Linked DNA regions of Homo sapiens: all the other regions are linked to region 3. Evidence: promoter capture Hi-C in human tissues and cell types (Jung and others, 2019). All regions are on one chromosome and are shown on one strand. The core of a region is centred on a gene start or on the middle of the fragment in contact, and the rest is flanking DNA. Distances in the headings are between cores, read along the strand shown. Region 1 overlaps CBX7 (chromobox 7). Region 2 overlaps KCNJ4 (potassium inwardly rectifying channel subfamily J member 4). Region 3 holds the start of DNAL4 (dynein axonemal light chain 4).

What was found. The method cuts DNA at HindIII sites, captures the fragments that hold promoters and counts their contacts. A contact is called where the count stands out against the background at its distance.
Region 1: a contact is called between a fragment that was not itself captured here and the fragment with the promoter of DNAL4 in region 3, in 3 of the 25 tissues and cell types used here (dorsolateral prefrontal cortex, heart left ventricle and pancreas).
Region 2: a contact is called between a fragment that was not itself captured here and the fragment with the promoter of DNAL4 in region 3, in 1 of the 25 tissues and cell types used here (spleen).

Annotation. Positions count from the first base shown.
Region 1 is chr22:39,131,655-39,134,427 of GRCh38, forward strand. CBX7 (chromobox 7) reads right to left here. Exons shown (of 6, transcript NM_175709.5): 5 at 2,747-2,773; 6 at 1-2,394. The coding sequence ends at 2,237. Among named protein-coding and RNA genes, the nearest start is that of CBX7, 20 kb to the right of the region's middle. RefSeq lists enhancers at 1-333, 1,973-2,657, 2,658-2,773. The HindIII fragment of the contact is 4,160 bases long and covers 1-2,773 here.
Region 2 is chr22:38,444,698-38,447,504 of GRCh38, forward strand. The region is part of intron 1 of KCNJ4 (potassium inwardly rectifying channel subfamily J member 4); the gene reads right to left. Among named protein-coding and RNA genes, the nearest start is that of KCNJ4, 9.1 kb to the right of the region's middle. The HindIII fragment of the contact is 6,980 bases long and covers 1-2,807 here.
Region 3 is chr22:38,792,868-38,795,567 of GRCh38, forward strand. It overlaps DNAL4 (dynein axonemal light chain 4), which reads right to left and starts at 1,276. Exons shown (of 4, transcript NM_005740.3): 1 at 1,201-1,276. RefSeq lists a silencer at 1,018-1,467. The HindIII fragment of the contact is 13,707 bases long and covers 1-2,700 here.

The DNA.
Region 1 (2,773 bases), core at 152-2,651, 340 kb after region 3:
AGGAAAGATGTGTCCTGCTGCTGCAGACAAAAGCAACTGCAGCACCCACACAGAAAGCCCCGTGAATCCACAGACCCACAGATTGCGCAAATAGTTCTTTGAAAGTGACCAGGAAGCAGGAAAAAGGTCCTATGTCCCCTGGGGGATGGGGAGCGTGACTTCTGCTGGAAGCTGCCAGCCATGTTCCAAAGTCATGGGCCAAAACATTCAACTAGAGACCCCCCACAACCCTCTATCATCTTTACCTCCGCTGGGCACCCCTCTCCTGGAAGAGTCCCCTCTGAACCCCAAGCTTCCCCTTCCCCTCCACAGGGCTCCACAGCTGGAGATGGGTGGTGATTCCTGCCGCTCCTTGTCCAGACCCACCCCACGTATTCCTCTAGATTCCATTCCCTGGGCTGGAGGTGAATCAGGTCATCCCGGAGGGGACTGTCCCCCAATGGAAGCACTGAATTGACCGTGGACAACTAAAGATCGAGGAGGAAGGAAAGAGAGACTCAGGGATCTGGGAAGCCTGTCAACAGAGCACCCCATGCAGAAAGGGCTGCAGGCTGTCTTTGGTTTGGGAACCAGGGAAGAAGGGATTTGGGGAAAGAATCACCCTCTCCTTGCCTCAGTAGACTCTGTGACTTCCTGAGGACACAGAGCAGAGCTGCGAGGAGGGCGGGCAGGTCTCAAACTTGCTGGCCGCACTCCACTCTTGGTGTGTGTTACCCTGACTCTGACAGCCAAGGAAAGACAGGGGAGCCGGCCTTTTCCATGCTCCCCTTGGGCCCCCCAATCTGGTTTTGTCTCCCCTACAGGACTGGAAGAGAGGGAGAAGTCACTCCTCACTGGCAGGGAAGCCACGGGCCCCCAGGACACCTTGTACAAACCAGAAAACAAGTGCACCTTGCCAGGGGTGGGCTGGGGCAAAGCCTGCCCATCACACAGCACAGCCTGACCTCAGAGAGGCACGGCAGAGGTCCCTCCACAGGAATACAGCTCAGCCCCAGCTGTGGCATTTAGGTTGGATGGGGAGGGGATGCAGAATGGAAGGAGGAAGGGGCTTAGGAGTCAAGGGCTGCCCTGAGAACGTGGTGGGACACTCCCTCCCTCCCTGACTGCCCACACCTGGGTTGGCTGAGTTGGAGGGGAGGGCAGAAAAAGAGGGGAATTGGAAGGGCTGAAAAGTCACCTGAGTCAGAAAGAACAAGAACCCCTCACGGGAGGAAGGACAGGGTCCAGACGTCTCAAAGCCTGTGCTGATACATCACACAACTTAGCAGACGCCTGCACACCCGCAGCCTGGCCCGGTGCAGCCGAGAAACCACATCTGTATGCCTGGAGCATGGGGTGCCATCGCACCTGTGCCAGACCCCTGCCCTCCACTGAAAGCCGCAAGCAGGTAGCAAGGTGCATGCAAGGTGGGGTGAGTGCAGGTGTGGTGGTGAGGTCTTTTGTGCTGTGAATCACCCCACGTTCGCCTGGCCAGGGTTTCTAACCCAGGTTCGCAAGGCCCATGTGGACACGTCTGCAGCCACACATGCTTTCACGGGGCACATGGGAACGTACACGCGAAGGGTAATGCGTGCACACCTGTGCAGCCAGGTGTGCATGAGCGTTTCTGCACAGGCCAGGTGATGAGGGGAGGGCAGAGCTCTCAGCAGAAGGGTCTCAGCGGCGCCTCCTCCCTGGGAAGGATAGAAGCCTCTCTGAAGGGGAAGGGACTCGCCCCAAGTAACCTCAACCCTTCCTCCTGCCCCTTCCTCCCGCCCCACTCACTTTTGGTCAAAACCAGCCTCCACAGCCCACCGCAAAGCCAGAGAGGAGAGTTCAAGGTAAAGACCCAATTGAAACAAGAGAAAAGGGGAAAACCAGCCAACCAGGCTGGGGTGGCCACTCAAGGGAGAGGGTTTGGGCCTTCCAATGCTCCTTTAACTCCCAGAACCAGCTGCTGCGTCACTAGAGGAGAATGATAATGGTGGTGTCCCGGGCAGGTGATCCTGTCCCCATCCTGCCCTGGGGGTGGTACCCCAACTCCCAGAGCAACTCTCTCCATCCCCAGCCTGAGGCCTCGTGGTAAACGTCCCTCAGAGAAAGGGCAGGTGGTGGGAGAGTAGTGGGATCTTCTCCCCTTTTGCTGCTCGGTATTTTTTTAAATAAAATAATTACCCCGCCCCCAACCCATCCCTATCTCTGGAAGTCCCACCCCAAGCCCAAAAGAAAACAGTTTAAGAAGAGTAAAAACGGTGATTCAGAACTTCCCACTGCGGTCTCGGAAGAAGCCCTCAGCTGCCTGGGCCTCGCGGAAGGTGACGGTGATGGAGTTGGCGGTGATGTCGGTCACGGTCACCTCACTTGAGGGGAGCGCAGGTGTCCAGGGAGGGGGCCCCTCGGCCAGGTCGGCATCTGCTGCAGCGTCAGACACACAGATGGGGGCAGCGTTGACAAGGTGGGAAGCCATGCAGACCACCCAACCCGACCCCAACTCCAGCTCCTCCTCTCTGTGTCTTCAGTCAGCTCAGGGCCTCACACAGGGCTGGACACTTGGGAGGAGGGCACTGGGTGCATCCTCCCCACCTAGACAAGAGCTCAGCCAGAGCGGGACGACAGGAGGAGCCCTGGGCTAGTGTTGGGCCCTGAGCCCAGACCCGACTGGCCCCACAAAGCACTACAGGCCCTCTTTGGACATTGAACCAGCTGGACCTTATGACCCATAGGGCCCTTTCCAGCTCTGAGGGTCTCTGGGCTGGGGCCGCCTTACCCTCCTCTTCAGGGGGCTGCGCAGCAG
Region 2 (2,807 bases), core at 73-2,572, 350 kb before region 3:
TGGGCCACAGCCCCAAGGGACTGTCACTGACAGAACGCCTGCCATGGGGGGGGCCACGGGCTGCATGCCCCTCTTTACTGCTGACCACCTTCCCACTGGCTCCTCAGGCCAGAGAATCTCCAACTCCAGCCGACCCCCATCCATCCATCCATTCATTCATCACCCTAAATGTCCCCTGAGCTGGAACAGCATCTGCCTTCCTGCCAGGTGCCAGATGTGTCTCAACACAGCGCAGTGCCTTGCCTTGGAGGGCGGTCTGTAAATAATTGAGTGAACATTTATTGAGCACCTACTGTATGCTGAAGGGAAGCAGGTAAGTCACAAACCGGCTTTGCTGAGCTCCGTGCACGCATGTGTGCGTGCATGCGTGTGTGTGCGTGTGTGTGTGTGAAAGGGCATAAAGAGAAGGTCCTAGGAAGATGAGGGCAAGCAGGAGGGCACAAGGACAGAGCAGGGCTGGGCCTGGGCTGAGCGGAAAGCAGGGAATTTGGCCCGGCCTGGGATCTAGGCCCTGGGGAGAGGTGGTGGCTCTGGAGGAGCATGGGTGCCTGGACCTGGGTGGTCCACTGAGCAAGGGACAGGCGGCTACTTCTGAGGGCAGGACAGCAGCATCCTGGAAGTTGTGGCACCTATGTCTTTAGGAACCAAACATCCAGGGAAATCGGAACCTGAGCATCAGAACCTCTATCAGGGCGCCTCCTGGATTTCTACACAGGACAGTAGCTTTCAAGTTTTTTGACCAAAATCCGTAGTAAAAGCAAACATCCTGTTTGTTATTTTAACTTACTTTATATTTATTTTTTAGAGACAGAGTCTTGCTCCAATGCCCAGGCTGGAGTGCAGTGATGCGATCACAGCTCAATTGCAACCTCCTGGGTTCTTGCCATCCTCCCGCCTCGGCCTCCCAACGTGCTGGGATTACAGGCGTGAGCCACTGCACCCGGCTATATATTTAAAGCTGAAGTAAGAGCGTCACAAAATAATATTTACCCTCACTACATGCATAGTATTTTGAAATTTTCTTTTTAATTTCATTTTCGGAAAACAAGTAGTGCAACTCACTAAGTCAATTTCCCAACCCACTAACGGGGCAGGACCTGTGTGCAATTTTAAAGCACTGGCCTGAGTGGGGGTTAGGAGCGGTGAAATGGGATCCGGCGTGTGTCTTGAAGCTGTGACGGGCGGTGCTTGGACTCCGGGCTTTGTGACACACAACCATGTGGGGAATTGTTGGATGTTATGGGGGAATACTGGGAAAAGTCTGTTAGACCCCCCAGCTCACAGGACCGCCACTCTGCAGCCCAAATAACAGGGACTCTTTGGGGTCTGGTTCCAATTTTTTCCCCGGGTCTTTTAATAGAGCCCCCTCCTGCCCTGATAACAGATGCCATTCAGCAGTTGCTTACACATCTCCCAGGACAGGGCGCTCACCCACTTCTCAGGCAGCCCACTTGACTGTGAGGAGTAAGCTCTGCCGGGCTGCTGATGTAGCTGCTAAGTGGGGCCCCGCCCGTGGCTGGCTGGCCATTCTCCTCTGTCCTCTAGCCTGTTGTCTCAGGGAGCCGGGACAGCTCTGGCAAGTGGTCCTCTCTCTGCCCCACCCAGTTCTCTCTCTCTGCTGCCCAGCCACTGCCGGGTGTCTGTTGGGGGCAGCCTTGGAGCCCAGCCAGAGAGAGGCCCTTTCCAAGGTCAGGTGGGCTCAGGATCTGAAGCCTCATGGCGGGGCTGGCACTCAGCCAGCCTTGCCCACCAAAGCAGTTCTGGGGGCCTGGGTGAGGGAGGGCCGGGGGAGGCTCAGCTGTCCAGAGAAGTGGTACCCCAAGGCAGTGGCTGGTGATGGGGGTCTGGAAATCAGGCCCAGCAGTGCCCTTGAGTGGTTGGGTCACAAAGTAGTTCATATCAACGAGCTATGATACATTCATTCACTCACAGGCTCACAGGATCTTCCCAGTCACCCTCAGAAACAGATGCAAAGGGCCAGGCACGGTGGCTCATACCTATAATCCCACCACTTTGGGAGGCTGAGGTGGATGGATCACATGAGGGTCAGGAGTTCGAGACCAGCCTGGCCAACATAGTGAAACCCCATCTCTACTAAAAATACAAAAATTAACCGAGCATGGTGGTGCGCACCTGTAGTCCTAGCTACTTGGGAGGCTGAGGCCAGAGAATTGCTTGAACTGGGAGGCGGAGGTTGCAGTAAGCTGAGATCGCGCCACTGCTCTCCAGCTTGGGCAACAGAGCGAGACTCCATCTCAAAAAAAAAAAAAAAAGAAACAGAGGCAAACGCCCACCCTTACGGGGCAGGGGGTAAAGGCTCAGAGAGGTGAAAAACCTGCCCCAGATTCCGCAGCTGCTAAGGGGTGGAGCTGGACATGAACCCAGATCTTCTGTTTCCCAGTCACGGGCCTCGCCTGGGACAACTGAGGCTGGAGGAGCCTTGGGGTAGGGGAGGGGGAGGTGGGCCACTCCTCCTGTCTTGCTGAGAGCAGGCTGGGTTTCTCTGCCCCAGAGGGCAGGGCGAAGGAAAGAGGGAGTCAGGGATCAATTAGCAGAACCTTCCAGACACGAGTGGGCTTCCCCGGAGATGGGGAGCTCCCCGTGAGGAACAGTGAGGAGGGACTTGAGGCCCATTTCTCAGGATAACTGCAGAAGGGTATCCATGGGCACGAGGTTTGAAGGATGCCCAAAGCCCCTCTGCCTGCTCCATTTCACCCCCAGCCAGGGCCTCTCCAGCCTGTGCCCACCACCTCCCCTGTATGGCCCCAAGGAGCCCCTAATTGCGGACCCCATCCCATTTGTCTCCC
Region 3 (2,700 bases), core at 26-2,525:
AAGTGTAGGATAGTAAACACATAAACAAGTAACAGTCATTTATTACCATTATCAAGTATGATGTCCTGTACACAATTGTATGTGCTATATTTTATATGACTGGCAGCACTGTAGGTTTGCTTACACCAGCATCACCACACACGTGAGTCATGCATTTTGCTTTGACATTACGATAGCTATGTAACTAGGTGATAGAAATTTGTCAGCTCCATTATAACCTTAGGGCACCACCGTGGTATCTGTGGTCTTTCTTGACCAAAACGTTGTTATATGGTACATGACTGTATTTCAATCTCCATCTGTCCCCTCCCCACCCCTAAGTAACCCTAACCATGGAAGCCCAGGAGGAAGATCAGAGAGGGTCAACTGGAGAAATGACAGTTCATGCTGACCGGGTTGATAACATTTCCCAGAGAGGGAAAATGTGGTGAAGAGACAAAGGAAAGAAACTAACAAATACTGAATCTATACTGGACTGGACTCTGTACTTCATATTAGCCTCAGAATTACCAAAGGAGATGCACCGACGTATACTGATTTTACATATGCACTGATTAAAAGCGCAGGGAGGGTAGGTCTTGAGACTGGGAATCCAAATTAGGTTTGCCAAGTTATTTTCACAATACACGATACCTCCCATTGGGGAGCACATCCTCTCGGAAGCCTAAAGTTGGGTCAAAGAACAACGACATCCTAGAACGTCAGAGTGGAAGAGGCCTTAGAGATCACTCAACTCAACTTCTCATTTACAGATGGGGAAACTGAGGCCCAAACAGGGGAAATGACCAGCCCAGAATCCCAGTAAGTCGCCAACTCTCCAAGCCAAGAGCGGTCTGACCTAGTTGATGGCGACCCCGCGGGAGAGGGAATTACTCCGCGAAAGGTCGAGGGATCAAGGTGCTGGGGGAAGTCGGCTAAAGGGGGACGCGGGACCACGAAGCTGGGCAGGCCTTGGGTGGGTGGGGAAGAGCAGCCGGCAGAGTCGCGATGGCAAACCTGTCACGACAGAGCTCGCAGGTCCCGAAGTGGGGGTGAGGGTGGGGGTTGAGGATGGGAAGACCTGGGGCAGGGGAACAGCAGGCAGGAGACCGAGGTGGGGCCTCGGCGGCGGGCGAGGCCTCTTCCGCCCTGCGTTGCCTCCCGCCCTCCCTCCGGGCCGGCCCTCCCCGCCTGGCTGCCCGCCGCGCCCCGGGGCCTCACCTGCTCCTGCGGGGGCCGGAGCCGGGGCCGCAGCCAGCGAACCCCCGCCAGGGTTGTCAAGGAGCGAAACAAGAGTGTCTTAGCAACCAGCAAGGAAGTCCTGCCCCCTCACCGGACGTTGACGAGAATTTCACTTATTATTGGTGGATAAAAGTATCAATCAGAGTGAAAGGCCCTTATAAGTCAGGCGTTTGCAAGGACAGGGGCGTGGTTTAGAGGCCAGGGAGGCGGGACTTCACTTATAGTTGTCTTAAGCGTGCCCGAGGAGCAGGGGACACATTGAAGTTCTTTTTCTAGGGAAACAAACTTCGAAAAGCAGTACTGCCTTGGGAGGTTCTTTTAGTCACTTGAAATAACAAATGCAACTTGTTGGTGTCGTGACACTTAGCCACTACTTTATTGGGATCTGAAAAGCCTGATAATAACTAGCATTTTTGTAGGGCTGTACAATTAATATCTCACTTGATTCTCATTACAGTACTTTTAGGTGATAATATTCGTCATCCCATCTGAACTAAAGTTCAGAGAGGTTAAGTAACTTGGTAAAGGATGGAGGTAATCTCCCTGGAGAAGGAACCCAGGGGCTCCTTCCTCTGTGCCACACCCTTGTATGGTCACCTAGCTCTAGTCACTAGGAGACATTTGTACCACCTAATTTCAGACACAGTTGCCCAGAGCCTGCCTTTTCTTCCCCTTGGGAGGGAAAATTAATCCGAAAGTACGGAGAAGGAAAAGGGGAAAGGGGAAGAACTGGCGGATTCTATTATTTGATTGGTAGATCAAAGGGTCAGTTGGGTACTTCGTAGTTTAAACCTTTATTATTGTGATGAGTACTTGGGGTGAAACCCCACTGCCACATTTACTAGCATTGAAGCTGTCTTTGCCAAAATTATAACTGAGGAAATTATGACAGTGAAAGAGATCAGACCTAACCCACTCCATCTTGCCTTTCTAGCCTTTAAGCTGTCTTTGTTCATTCCTAGGCATAGGCTGAACGAACCTTGGGAAGGAATTTAGTTTATAGTTTTACTCTGAAACAAAATTGACAATAGCCCTTTCCCAAAAAGGCTCCCTTCCTGCCTTGGGACCAGTCTGCCTTTGTAGGACTAACAAATTAGCTACAACATTAGAAATTATGGTTTAGGGGTCACACAGCAGCCTCTGGCTGCAAGAGTCTGAACCTTCCCAAATTGCTCCTGGGGATAACATCACTATTGTAAAACCTAAGATCAGCGCTTGAGATATTTTGCAGACCCTGCGCTCGATGGATCAGCTGACACCACCCAGACCAGTAATGTGGCTCAAACAGTTCTGTGATCCCACCCAGGAACAGAAGACAGCAAGAAAACCTCACTTCGACCCCCTCAGTATTCCATCTTCGACTTAATCAATCAACACTCCTCGCTTGCCAAGCCCCTACCCACAAAATTATCTTTAAAACCTCTGATCCCTGAATGCTTGGGTAGCATATTCAACTGCCTCCTAGCCATGTGCACCAGA